2 separate regions of the Homo sapiens genome follow, and region 2 is linked to region 1. Evidence: promoter capture Hi-C in 16 types of primary human blood cells and fetal thymus (Javierre and others, 2016). All regions are on one chromosome and are shown on one strand. Each heading gives the region's core, a stretch centred on a gene start or on the middle of the fragment in contact. The rest is flanking DNA. Distances are from core to core; before and after follow the strand shown.

What was found. The method cuts DNA at HindIII sites, captures the fragments that hold promoters and counts their contacts. A CHiCAGO score of 5 or more calls a contact.
Region 2: a contact is called between a fragment that was not itself captured here and the fragment with the promoter of EXOSC1 in region 1, in 2 of 17 cell types (M0 macrophages and M1 macrophages). The highest score is 5.3, in M0 macrophages.

The regions. Positions count from the first base shown.
Region 1 is chr10:97,442,725-97,448,941 of GRCh38, forward strand. EXOSC1 (exosome component 1) reads right to left here and starts at 3,282. Exons shown (of 8, transcript NM_016046.5): 1 at 3,231-3,282; 2 at 3,008-3,123; 3 at 513-587. The coding sequence starts at 3,261. It overlaps ZDHHC16 (zDHHC palmitoyltransferase 16), which reads left to right and starts at 3,451. Exons shown (of 12, transcript NM_198046.3): 1 at 3,451-3,629. RefSeq lists enhancers at 2,411-2,991, 2,992-3,571 and a silencer at 3,503-3,712. The HindIII fragment of the contact is 1,823 bases long and covers 2,539-4,361 here.
Region 2 is chr10:97,546,060-97,552,084 of GRCh38, forward strand. The region is part of intron 1 of UBTD1 (ubiquitin domain containing 1); the gene reads left to right. All of the region lies in intron 2 of LOC124902488 (a long non-coding RNA gene), which reads right to left. Among named protein-coding and RNA genes, the nearest start is that of ANKRD2, 24 kb to the right of the region's middle. RefSeq lists an enhancer at 5,323-5,823. The HindIII fragment of the contact is 3,470 bases long and covers 2,019-5,488 here.

The DNA of each region.
Region 1 (6,217 bases), core at 2,032-4,531:
GCCCAGGCTGGACTGCTGTGACGCAGGCTCACTGCAACCTCCACCTCCTGGGTTCAAGCACTTCTCCTGCCTCAGCCTCCCGAGTAGCTGGGATTACAGGCATGCACCACCACGCTAAGCTAATTTTTGTATTTTTGGTAGAGACAGGGTTTCACCATGTTGGCCATGATTGGCCAGGCTGGTCTTGAACTCCTGACCACAGGTGATCTGCCCACCTCGGCCTCCCAAAGTGCTGGGATTACAAGCATGAGCCACCATGCCCGGCAATTTTTGATTCTTTTTGTAGAGATGAGGTTTCACTATGTTTCCCAGGCTGGTCTTGAACTCTGGGCTGAAGCAATCCTCCTGCCTCGGCCTCTTAAAGTGCTAGAATTACCAGTGTGAGCCACTGTGCCCTGCCAGAAATAAATTTATGTAGCTTGTGGCTATCATACTGGACACTGCAGTTCTGGTATGGTCATGATTTCAGTATTGAATGGGCATTCTAAGCATGGAGGTCAGGACCAACTTACCTTACAGGTTACAATAGCTCCCACATCTGGCAGTAACTGGGACTCTGTTTCTCTCACTACAGACACCACTGGAAGCTACAGAGGGAACAACAAAAAACTGAAATGTCCTGACTAACCCTTGGGTCAAGGCATTTGTGGCTTGAGAGTAATATAGGAATGTCTTGGTATAAAGGTGAGAGTTGGAGTATGGATTCATTTATAGCCCAGAGCAGAAGGCCTTAGAAATTTTAGGAAATAGGAGGACCAGGAGGCTACAGAATGCTGCTAGAAGACATACATCTCTAAACTTCTTTTTTTGTTGTTGGAGACGGAGTCTTGCTCTGTCGCCTAGACTGGAGTGCAGTGGCACGATCTCGGCTCACTGCAAGGTCCACTTCCCGGGTTCACGCCATTCTCCTGCCTCAGCCTCCCGAGTAGCTGGGACTACAGGCACCCGCCACCATGCCCAGCTACTTTTTTTTGTAGTAAATCTCTAAACTTCTAATAAGTTTTTTGGTGATTCTCTCAGAATTTCTTGGTATACAACTATATTGCCTATAATCATTGACAATTTTACTTTTTTTGTTTTTTTTTGAAATGGAGTTTCACTCTTGTTGCCTAGGATGGAGTGCAAGGGTGCCATCTTGGTTCACTGCAACCTCCACCTCCTGGGTTCAAGTGATTCTCCTGCCTCAGCCTCCCGAGTAGCTGGGATTACAGAAGCCTGTCACCATGCTCGGGTAATTTTTTGTATTTTTAGTAGAGATGGGGTTTCACCATGTTGGCCAGGCTGGTCTCGAACTCCTGACCTCAGGTGATCCACCTGCCTTGGCTTCCCAAAGTGCTGGGATTACAGGTGTGAGCCACTGCGCCCTGCCGACAATTTACTCTTTCCTCCAAAGTTATACTGCTTCCTTCTGTTTCTTATTTTATTGCACAGGCTGAAATTTCCACAAAAATGTTACATAATAGCGGCTATGCTTGTTTTCTTCTATTTTAAGTGAATACTTGCAGAGTTTTCTCTTTGAGCATGGTATTGGCTGTTGGTATAAGACAGATATTTTGAGCCTCATCTTTTATCAATCTCTCCGTTGCTCACAATGCTTCAGCTCTCCTGGCCTTCTTTCAGTTTCCCCAACTTACTAAATTCTTCCCACTTTCAGATCTCTCTTCAACCTATTCTTTCTGCCAGAGCTGCACTCTCTCCACCCACCTGACTCTTACCTACTCTTTAGATGATTCAGCTTAAATGTCACTTCTGCTGACTAGGATGGGTTTGCCTGTTACATGTTCTCAAGGTGCCCTGTAATATTCTTTCAAAGCACCACCACATATGTAACCATATGCTCATTTGAGCATTTATTTGTTTACAATTTGTGTCTGTGTCCTTTGATAGCAGAAACCAAGTCAGCGCTGTGCCTGACACATGAAAATACTCAAGTGATATCTATGAAATGAACAAACTCAGGACTGTTAAGAACATTCCCAACAATGACTGAATAGAAAGCCCCTTGAATCAGACAGCTTAAGTTACTTACTCAAAGCAGAATCAAAGTCAAGTTAGCCAGAACGTAACTGTTCTAATTCTGAATCCTCTTTCTATTGTGCTCCTTCAAATATTGCTTATATGATCCTGAGCTAATCCTGGATCTATCTCTGAAACTAGAAAGGTAGGTATTACTCACACATTCAACATTTATTGAGGAGCTGCCTTGTGCTATATACGGATGGTATGGTGGTAGGGCCTGCTTTCACGGACTTAGATTTAAGCAGGGGAGAAGTCTAGTAGGAAACATATACCTGAGTGTCTCATCATATGCTGACATAGTGCTTGGAAGAAAAGGAACAGAGTTTTTTGTGAGTCTTTAACAAAACAAACAAAAACAAAACACCCCACAAAACTCCTTTCCTCAATTAGTGGGTCCAGAAGGACTTCTCTGAGGTGATAGTAGAGAAGCTATCTAAAGGAGGTAGGAATTAAATAGGCCTAGGAAGATAGAAGCGTTCCAGATAGATGGCATGTTACAAAGGCTCTGTAGCAGGAGAAAGCTTGGCGCATTACCGACACTGAAAGAAGCTAGTATGTTATAAAAAATTTTTAAAGGGCAAGCAGAGACTGTGATTATAACTTTTAAACACAGAAAAGACAGTATGACTAGATTGCGTCAGTGAGGTGGAGATAGTGGCGCTAGATAAAGTCGGAAAGGTAAGCAACATTCATACAGTATGCAACTCACTGCTGGGCTGAGCTGGGCTGGGATGGGATACTGAGTTCGCATCTGCTTTTGTCCCAACTTCCCTCCCCGAGGGTCAGCAGCACAACCAAGCGAGATCAACACAACTAGTGTGTGGTGGCTAAGTGCACCACAGCGGCGATACGGCTAGAAGAAACTAAGAGACCAACATTGTACCACTGAGGCACTAAAGACGCGTCCGCAGTGCCCATGCCTAAGGACTGGAACTCAAGGGCAGCCTAAGGGAAAAACAGAGGGGAGATGGCATGCCGCTTCCTTTACCGCGCCATTCTCGCTGCTCTTCATCAGACAGCCGGCAAGCGACGAAAAGATGTAGCCGTGGCGGGTGTAGGTGCCGCTGCCCGGGCTGCCCTCCTCCAAGTTACACAGACGTTCGCCTGCAGAAAAAATGCTGCATCGGTCACGGGCCCCCAGAAGCTGTAGGCCGTTTAGCCTTCTTGCTTCAGCCCCTATCCAGGACTCTGTACGGGAAGCGCTCACTTACCGGGGATGCAGTATCTCACAGGTGGCGCCATGATTGCCGCTGTCCCAAAACCAGGATGAAAACGAAGTCGATTTCTCATTGGCCAAACCCAGGCACAGTTCCGCAGTAAGACACGTGTCAATTGGTACTCTTTATCCTTGCGAGTAAACTCCATTTCCCAGGTTACCCCGGGACAAATCCGGGGGCGGAACTTCAGAGGTCCACGCTGGCGCCTGCGCGTGTGGTTGAGGATGGGCTGGCGGCGGGTCCGGGTCCGCTGCCTGGCGCTGCGGGCGGCGGGCCATGGTGGTTTGGATTGAGCCGGGCCCGGCCGGGGCGCCGAGTCGGAGGGGGTGGCAGTGAGCGGCGGCAGAGGCTACGGGGCTCGGTTTGGCTGACTGGGGAGTCGGCAGGCGGCAGGTAAGGGCGAAGCCTCGGCCCTTGCTCCCCATCCTAGTCCCTTTTTCTGGGTAGGGCACTGCCCTGGGGCCTTGTCTTGAGTGCGGGTTCCTGCTCTCTCCTCGCCCCGCCCTGCGGGGCCGTGCCCTCCTCAGCCCGAGCGCACCTTCCGAGCAATCGTTACGCTCAGAGCAGGAGGGAAGGAGGTCAAGCGACCCAACTCGTCTGTTTCACAGATATGGAACCTCAGATTCAGAGACAGGGTTTGACTTGTCCAAAATGATCAAGATAGTTAAGATAGAGCCCAAACTGGAACCCACGGTTTTTGACTTCCAGTCCATCGCAGTTTCACCTCGCGGCTGTCATTGAGAAATAAAACCTTTTCCCGGTTTTTTTGTTTTGTTTTTGAGGAGTCTCGCTCTGTCGCCAGGCTGGAGTGCAGTGGAGCGATCTCTGTTCACTGCAACCTCCGCCTCCCGGCATCAAGCGATTCTCCTGCCTCAGCCTCCCGCGCAGCTGGGACTTACAGGCGCGCGCCACCACGCCCAGCTAATTTTTGTAGTTTTAGTAGTGACGGGGTTTCACCATGTTAGCCAGGATGGTCTTGATCTCTTGATCCGCCCGCCTCGGCCTTCCAAAGTGCAGGGAGTACAGGCATGAGCCACTGCCTCCGGCCTTTTCCCGGTTTTTTAAACTGCAGCTTCCAGTCCTGCGGTCCGATCCTCTTCGCGGCCCCTCATCCCCACTTCAGTAAGCTTTCTCTGGTTGAAAAAGCCGAACTCTGGTTGTGTGGGCCCGTCATCAAAAGATAAGCAGCCCCAAAATAAAGTTGTTACTCTTTTTCTTCTCAGCGTGTTAGCCCAGAAGGGAGGTCTGCACATGAATAAAATGCTACTCTTTATTGATGTTGGGTATCTCCTACTTGAGATTGCAAACATCCTGAGAGCAGCGTCTTTGTCCAGATGACATTCGCCACGACTTTGATCTCAGTTCACCTGACTTCTGATGGCTTTGCCGTCTGTCCTTCCCTGTCCCCTCAGTCGACTTTCCCATTGGGAAACAGATGTGACTTAAAGCCATGGGAAGAGGGGAGTGTTGTGGCCAGCAATCTCCTCCAGTCTGGTGGCAGATGACCAGTATGGCCTGTGACTATTACTGAAGGATCAGAGTACTCGGGCTTGTGCTTGGGGTGGTAGTAAAGCTGCGCTTTGCTCTGTTTCCTCCCGTTCACTGAGATTAGCCCCTTCTCCCCTACACACATCTTTTTGAATTTTGCTTTACTTCTATTTCTTGAGATGAAAAGTCTGGGCCAGGTGCGGTGGCTCACGCCTGCAATCCCAGCACTTTGGGAGGCTGAGGCAAGCACATCACCTGAGGTCGGGAGTTTGAGACCAGCCTGACCAACATGGAGAAACCCGGTCTCTACTAAAAAAATACAAAATTAGCCAGGCGTGGTGGCACATGCCTGGAATCCCAGCCACTCAGGAGGCTGAGGCAGGAGAATTGCTTGAACCCAGGAGGCGGAGGTTGTGGTGAGCCCAGATTGTGCCATTGCACTCCAGCCTGGGCAACAAGAGTGAAACTCCATCTCAAAAAAAAAAAAAAAGAAAAGTCTGTGTGTTCAGTTGCGGCCCACTTACTACATATGTAATTTTCCTGGCATCCCATACCCCATTAGCTAATGGAGAGAGGCCCTAGCCTCAGACTTTGTTCACCCAAATCTGTATCTGTGCGTCTAGGAGCTTTCTGTTTACACGGTTGGGCTGATTTCTGGTTGGGCTTGTTTTCAAAAACGACTTCTAGCTCCTAAGTGCCATGATTTTAATAACAGTTTGTATTTCTCTCTTTATGAATCAGGAAGAATGATAACAGCAGACACTTATTTAGTGTTACCACATTGGCAGGAGTGTCCTTGCTGGTATTTGTAGGACAGATAGACATCTGGCCAGGCTTTCCACTTCTGCATCCCTCCAGGTCATTCATTCAACAAATATTTATTGAGTACTTCCATGAGCCGGGTATTGTGCTAAGTGCTTTATAAACATTTCATTTACACTTACCAAAGAAGTTTGCTCTTCATACCTGTGGGTTTCACATTGCTGATCCAATCCAACCATGGATTGGAAATATTTGGGGGCAGCTGGGCATGGTGGTTCGCTCACACCTGTAATCCCAGCACTTTGGGAGGCCAAGGCAGACAGATCACCTGAGGTCAGGAGTTCAAGACCAGCCTGGCCAACATTGCGAAACCCCGTCTCTACTAAAAATACAAACATTTGCTGGGCGAGGTGGCAGGTGCCTGTAATCCCAGCTACTTGGGAGGCTGAGGCAGGGAGAATTGCTTGAACCCAGAAGGCGGAGGTTGCAGTGAGCCGAGATCTTGCCACTGCACTACAGCCTGGGCAACAGAGCGAGACTTCATCTCAAAAACAAACAAAAAAAGTGTTTATGTGTAGCATTTACTTTGTATTAGGTATTATGAGTAATCTAGAAATGATTTAAAGTATATGGGAAGATACGTATAGGTTATATGCAAACACTATGCCATTTTATATCAGATTTGAGCATCCATGGATTTTGGTATCTGAAGGGAGGACTGGAACCAATCC
Region 2 (6,025 bases), core at 2,504-5,003, 100 kb after region 1:
CAGGCGTGAGCCACCACACCCAGCCACCATTAACTTTCTAACCATTAGCTTCATCCAACAGTGGAATAGGCTTCTTTGTGGCATGGTGAACACCTCAGTTCAGGAGGTGCACAGAGGCTGAATTGCCCCCCAGCTGGGGTGACTGTGGGGTAGTTGGTGAGTCTCCATCACTGAGCTCCAAGCCAGCCATGCTGAATTAGAGTCTTGAGCTGGTGCCTAGGTGTGTGTTTCTGTCAGGCCACAGGAGGGCCAGGCATGGTGGCTCACACCTGTAGTCCCAGCACTTTGGGAGGCTGAAGTGGGCGGATCACTTGAGCTCAGGAGTTCGAGACCAGCCTGGCCAACATAGTGCAACCTCATCTCTACTGAAAATCAAAAAAATTAGCCGAATGTCGTGGTGCACACCTGTAGTCCCAGCTACTGGGGAAGCTGAGGTGGGAGGATTATTTGAGTCCAGGAGATGGAGGCTGCAGTGAGCCTGATCACCCACTGCGCTCCAGCCTGGGTGACCGAGTGTGACCCTGTCTCAGAAAAAAAAAAAAAAAAAGCTGACAGAAGACCAGGGCACGCAGTCAGGTGTGGATAGCACTGGCCCAGCTGTCCTGGGAGGGCTCAGCTCTTAGATTCTGTTCCTCTCTAGTGGGCAATGGGAGGTTGGTAGCTCCTCCCGCCTTGCTCCTGCCGCGTGTTTTCCTTGCTGCTTTTCCCATTGGCATATTCTTCAGAGCTGTGCATTCAGCTCCTGATATTTTCATATTCTAGTTATAATTCAGCTTCCACTGGTGGTGGAGTAGTTTGGCAGAAAGAATTTACTGTGCCCCACTGCCACCTCACACACACACTCTCTCTCTCTCTCTCTGTCTGTCTCTGTCTCCGTCTCTCTCTCGGGAAACAGCTGTCGGGTCTGGGACAAGTCACATCACCTTTCAGCCTTGGTTTCCTTGTCTGTAAAATAAAGTGGCTAGGGCAGAAGACTTTAAGGTCGCTCCCAGCTTCAGGACTCTGCCATACTCGGGGGACATGCCCCCTTGGAGTGGTGCATGTCTGAGCGCTCGTGGCAGTTGACACCCAGTGGGACAGAGTCCCAGTGTCAGAAGTCAGGCTGTGCCGTTCGCTTCTAGGCACCTGGCTGCCGTGCCGGTGCCCGTTGGGTCCTCATCTTTACCAGCAGTGAGGGAGGTTGGACTGCTATGTCCAGCAGTAAAAAGCACAGTGGCTGAGAAAACCTACCTCCCCTTCCTGGAGTCCTGAGGTAGCAAAGGGAGCCAGCCAGATACAGGAGACCTTTCTAGCAACCTCTGGGGAGTTCCTGTTTTATTTATTAGCCACCATCCTCCCTCTTCTGCCCCAGGAAAAGTGCTGACCCTACGCTGTGCAACCAGCACAAGGAGGCAGACATCCATCAAGCCCACTCTCTGTCCCTGTTGAGCTTGACCTCATTTAACCCCTGCGTTCTGCTGCACCGCGAAATAAAGACCAAGACATCCCTATGGCAGGAGTTTTCTTTTCTTTTCTTTTTTTTTGAAACAGAGTCTTGCTCTGTTGCCCAGGCTGGAGTGCAGTGGCGTGATCTTGGCTCACTGCAACCTCCACCTCCTGGGTTCAAGCGATTCTCTTGCCTCAGCCTCCTGAGTAACTGGGACTACAGGCATATGCCACCACGCCTGGCTAATTTTTGTGTTTTTAGTGGAGATGGGGTTTCACCATGTTGGCCAGGCTGGTTTTGAACTCCTGACCTCAGTTGATCCACCTGCCTTGGCCTCCCAAGTGCTGGGATCACAGGCATGAGCCATCACGCCCAGCCTCGCAGTTTTCATTTTTCAAAATCACAGCAACTTTATGAAAAAAAAAAAAAGTAACCTTTAATTGTGTAATGGTTAAAGCATTACTGACTCGGCTTGGTTACCAATGACAATAGCTACTGTCTTTTCAGCACTGGGCAGAGTGGTCTCACTTAATCCTTACAGCAGTCCCATGAGGTGGGAGTTACATGCTCTTTTTACAGATGGAAACACCAAAGCTTAGGTTGGTGAGGTCATCCACCCGTGGTCACAAAGGTGGTTAGCAGCCAAAGAAAACCCCCACTGTCCATCTCTGAAGCCCACATGTGAGTAGCCAGATTGCAGAGAGAGGCTACAGTGTCTTTTTACACATACATAATTATCCATGATCCAGGTTGCCAGAAAGCACATGTAATCAGGGTTCCCTCCAGAGCTGCTAACGCTGGAACTGCTCGTATTCAAGCCAGGACTCTGGCTGCACTTGAGAGCAAACACATCAGTACGTGGCAAAGATGAGAGTGTGTTGACTGCAGGAAAGGGACATAGGTGCTTAAAACAAGGGAAGTGCGGTAATTCCCACCTATGTCTTACTCTGCTTGTGAAGTATAGTATTCTCTCCAAAGCAGCCTCAGAAAACATGTTAGTTGCATGGCAGGATAGAACCCTAGAGTCAGGCTGGGCGCAGTGGCTCACGCCTATAATCCCAGCACTTTGAAAGGCCAAGGCAGGCGGATCACTTGAGGCCAGGAGTTCAAGACCAGCCTGGCCCATCTCTACTAAAAATACAAAAACTAGCCATGGTGGCACACGCCTGTAATCCCAGCTACTTGGGAGGCTGGGGCAGGAAAATCACTTGAACCCAGGAGGTGGAGGTTGCAGTGAGCTGAGATTGCGTCACTGTACTCTGGTCTGGGCAACAGAGCAAGACTCCGTCTCAAAAAAAGACTAAACGAAAACCCTAGAGTTAGATCCTGAAGATTTGGGGGCTCTGTTTGTAATTGATATCAGATAGGCCAGTTTTCCTCTGGAAATGGGTCGGGGGATGGCTGGTCAGTGCCCAGCTCTGGGAGACCACCCTTCCCCGAGCCCGGCCAGATGTGGCCAGGGCCCCCAGGCTGGACTCACGGACCAGAGAGCAGAAAAAGGCCTGCTCTCCCTGAGCCCAGCCAGGCAGCCGACCCCGTGAATGTGTACGTTGTATGCAGCACCATGAAAGCACACCCTGTCTCACGCATGTGTGCCCCCTTGTCCGTATCTGTGGCTGCCCGCACACTGAGGCCTTGGGTAGGTCTGTTTCTCTTGGCTGCAATTTTGTCTCTCTCATGGCCACAGAGGATCCGGGCCTGCCTCCTCCAGCAGGTTTCCTCACTGTACACCTACCTCAGTGACTGGTTTTGTCCCTCCTGGACTCCCACCTCCACCCACTCCCTTTCTTTCTGCCTCTTCCTATTCAGTGAGGCTTGTTCACAAAACATAGTCCTCTGTTCCCCCTTTGCAGGGGTTTCTTGCAGACAGCTCTGTCTACTCTCCCATCTGATCTGTGCCTCCCCTCTCCAGCTCCTCCTTCTTTTCCTAAACTGCCTGCCCATTTCACTCGCCCGTGCAGCATGCCAGGCATTAACTCTGTCTGTAGGATCAAAAAGATGAACTGGAGGATGTCCCAGCCTCAGGCAGACAAACAAGATCATTGCAGAGAATTTCTGTTGCCATGGGCTGGGCATCATCCTAGAGCCGAGAAGGGGGCTCTCAGGGGTGCCACCCTGCCTTGATCCTTCAGCTCTGCTCAGGACCACCTGGGACCCACTGTACCTCTAGAGATGCCCGGTAAGAAGCCTGGCCCATCACTTAGCAACTGGCTCCACCCCTTTCCCTCCCTGAGCTGGGGCCCGAGAGGAGGAAAGGCCCACAGGCCTGTAAAGAGGCCACCAAATCCCAGAGCATGGGAGGCCCCAGCTGACCAGAGCTGGGCCAGCACTTTCCCTTCAAAAGTTACCTAGGCTCTGAGGGTCATCTCTGCTAAGTCTAACTATAAATATCGCGCTTCCTGAAGGGATTACCTGGGCACCACACCCCCTGGCTCCCCCCTCCCCGCCTGGGCTGATCCTTCTTCTGGGCCCTGTGTTCTTCCTGACCCCTTGTTCCCGCTGCCAGGTGGGACACTTCAGACTACCTGTGTTTCAGCTGTGACTGCTGGGGTGGGAGGAGAGAAACAAGAGATTCGAGTCTGTATCCTGGCCAGAGGGCCCTTGCCGGCCAGCTGTTGGGACAAGGAGGCTCTTGTTCCTGCCTTCTCCCGTCTGGTGTGAGAGCCGTGTCTCTCACACCAGCCAGAGCAAGCCCAGACTTGTCACATAATCGGTGCATCTGGGAAGGACACTGTTGGCCCCATCCCTGGAGTAAGGGCCTGGGGACAGAACTTGGTAACCGAGTGTGGAACAGCTTGGGGATTGCCGCAGGTATAAATAGGGCTGTTTCCTGGCTTGGGTGGCCTGACTGGGGAAATCTCTGCTCCCTTTGGCTGGTCTCAGATTTGGTGTCACATCCCAGTGGCTCACTTATTCCAGTCCCTGAAGTCACAAGAACCATCTCCTGGGGTCTGAGATCAAGAATTGAAGGAGGGGCCAGCCCGCTGCAGACCTCTCCCCTGCCTCCGCCTGCCTCCCTGCTGCTGCAGGAGCTGTAACTCCTCCACCCCTCCCCACCTGCTCACGGCGCCTCGGTCAGTTCCTTTCTCAATTCAGCAGGTACTTGCTGAGAACCGCGCTGGGCCAGGCACTGTGTGAGGCAGTGGGATCTATTCAGCTAGGGTCTGCCATCCTTCCTTGTGTTTTTGGAATCTCCTCTTCTGTGTAGCCATCCTGAGTTCAGCAGTGTGAATTGAGTGGTGGGAGTAAACACACACACACGCATACACACTCACACTCATAGATGCACACCAGCTCTGGGCAACTTGGAGAGGACCTTAAATGCTCTGTCTCCCACTCTCCTTTCGGTGCCCTCCCTTGGGGTGATATCACCAGACACCATTCATTATTGAGGCCAAACCACAGCATCCACCATCATTATCCTCCTCCAGCCCAGACGTAGTGCCCTCTTGCTCTCTTCCCTCCCAAATCAGCTCTCAGCAGCACCTCTGGAGACCATGTGTTGAACTGTTTGTTAAGATGTGGCTGGGCATGCCATTTCCACTCCTGTTTTGCTGTGTTTACAAATAGGTTCTTAAGTCAGATCAAGTACATACCCCAGCCCAGCCCCTGTAACTGGTTCCATGGGTGTGAGGTAGGCCCTGAGAATCTGTCTTTTGAACCAGCACCCCAGGAGATCCTAATACGGGAGGTTTCGACAACTCTTTGGGACCCTAGCCTTTGCCTCTATACACAGACATATACATTCTCTGCTCAATCACAAATGTTGGCCAGGCATGGTGGCTCACACCTGTAATCCTAGCACTTCGGGAGGCCGAGACAGGAGGATCCCTTGAGCCCAGGAGTTCGAGACCAGCCTGGGCAACATAGGGAGACCTCTCTATTAAAAAAAAAAAAAAAGTTTAAACAAAAAATGTCTTTTGGTGTCCTCTGCCCAGCACAATTGCGGAAACGCATGCTTTTTGTGGGTGTGTTGCTCTGCTGCCTCCCCGTGCAGGTTGTATGCCTTTGTCAGCTTCATTAAGGACAGGAACCATTTCTGTTACTCTGTCTTTGACCTGAAGCTTATCTAGGACAGGAGATGTAAGTAGAAGCTACTAAATGCTCCTGCTGCTGAAACCAGCAGAGCCTGCCTGGCCCTGGACAAAGCCTCCAGGAGCTGTCAGTAACTGATATCCTACAGGGTATGGGCTTAGCAAGTCAGCACCACCGTCGGCTCCCCAAACTCTTCCCACTTTTCCATGGCTGCACCCCAGAACTCCAAGTATCCTCTTTCCTTATTAACAACTTTTATGGTATTATTCTTATTATTAAAGTAATACATTCTTATTGTAGAAAACTTGGAAAATATAAACCAAGAAGAAATCATCGGTAACTGCCAATGAAATATAACCACTGTTTACATTTTGATATAAATTCTTCCAGCCTTTTTTCTCTTTTAAAGACCAGGTCTTACTCTGTCGCCCAGTCTGGAGTATAGTGGCGTAATCATAGCTCATCACTGCAGCCTTGACCTTCTGGGCTCAAGTTATCCTCCCGCCTCAGTCTCCCAAAGTGCGGGGGTTATAGGTGCGAGCCACTGTGCTCAGCCCTCCTGTC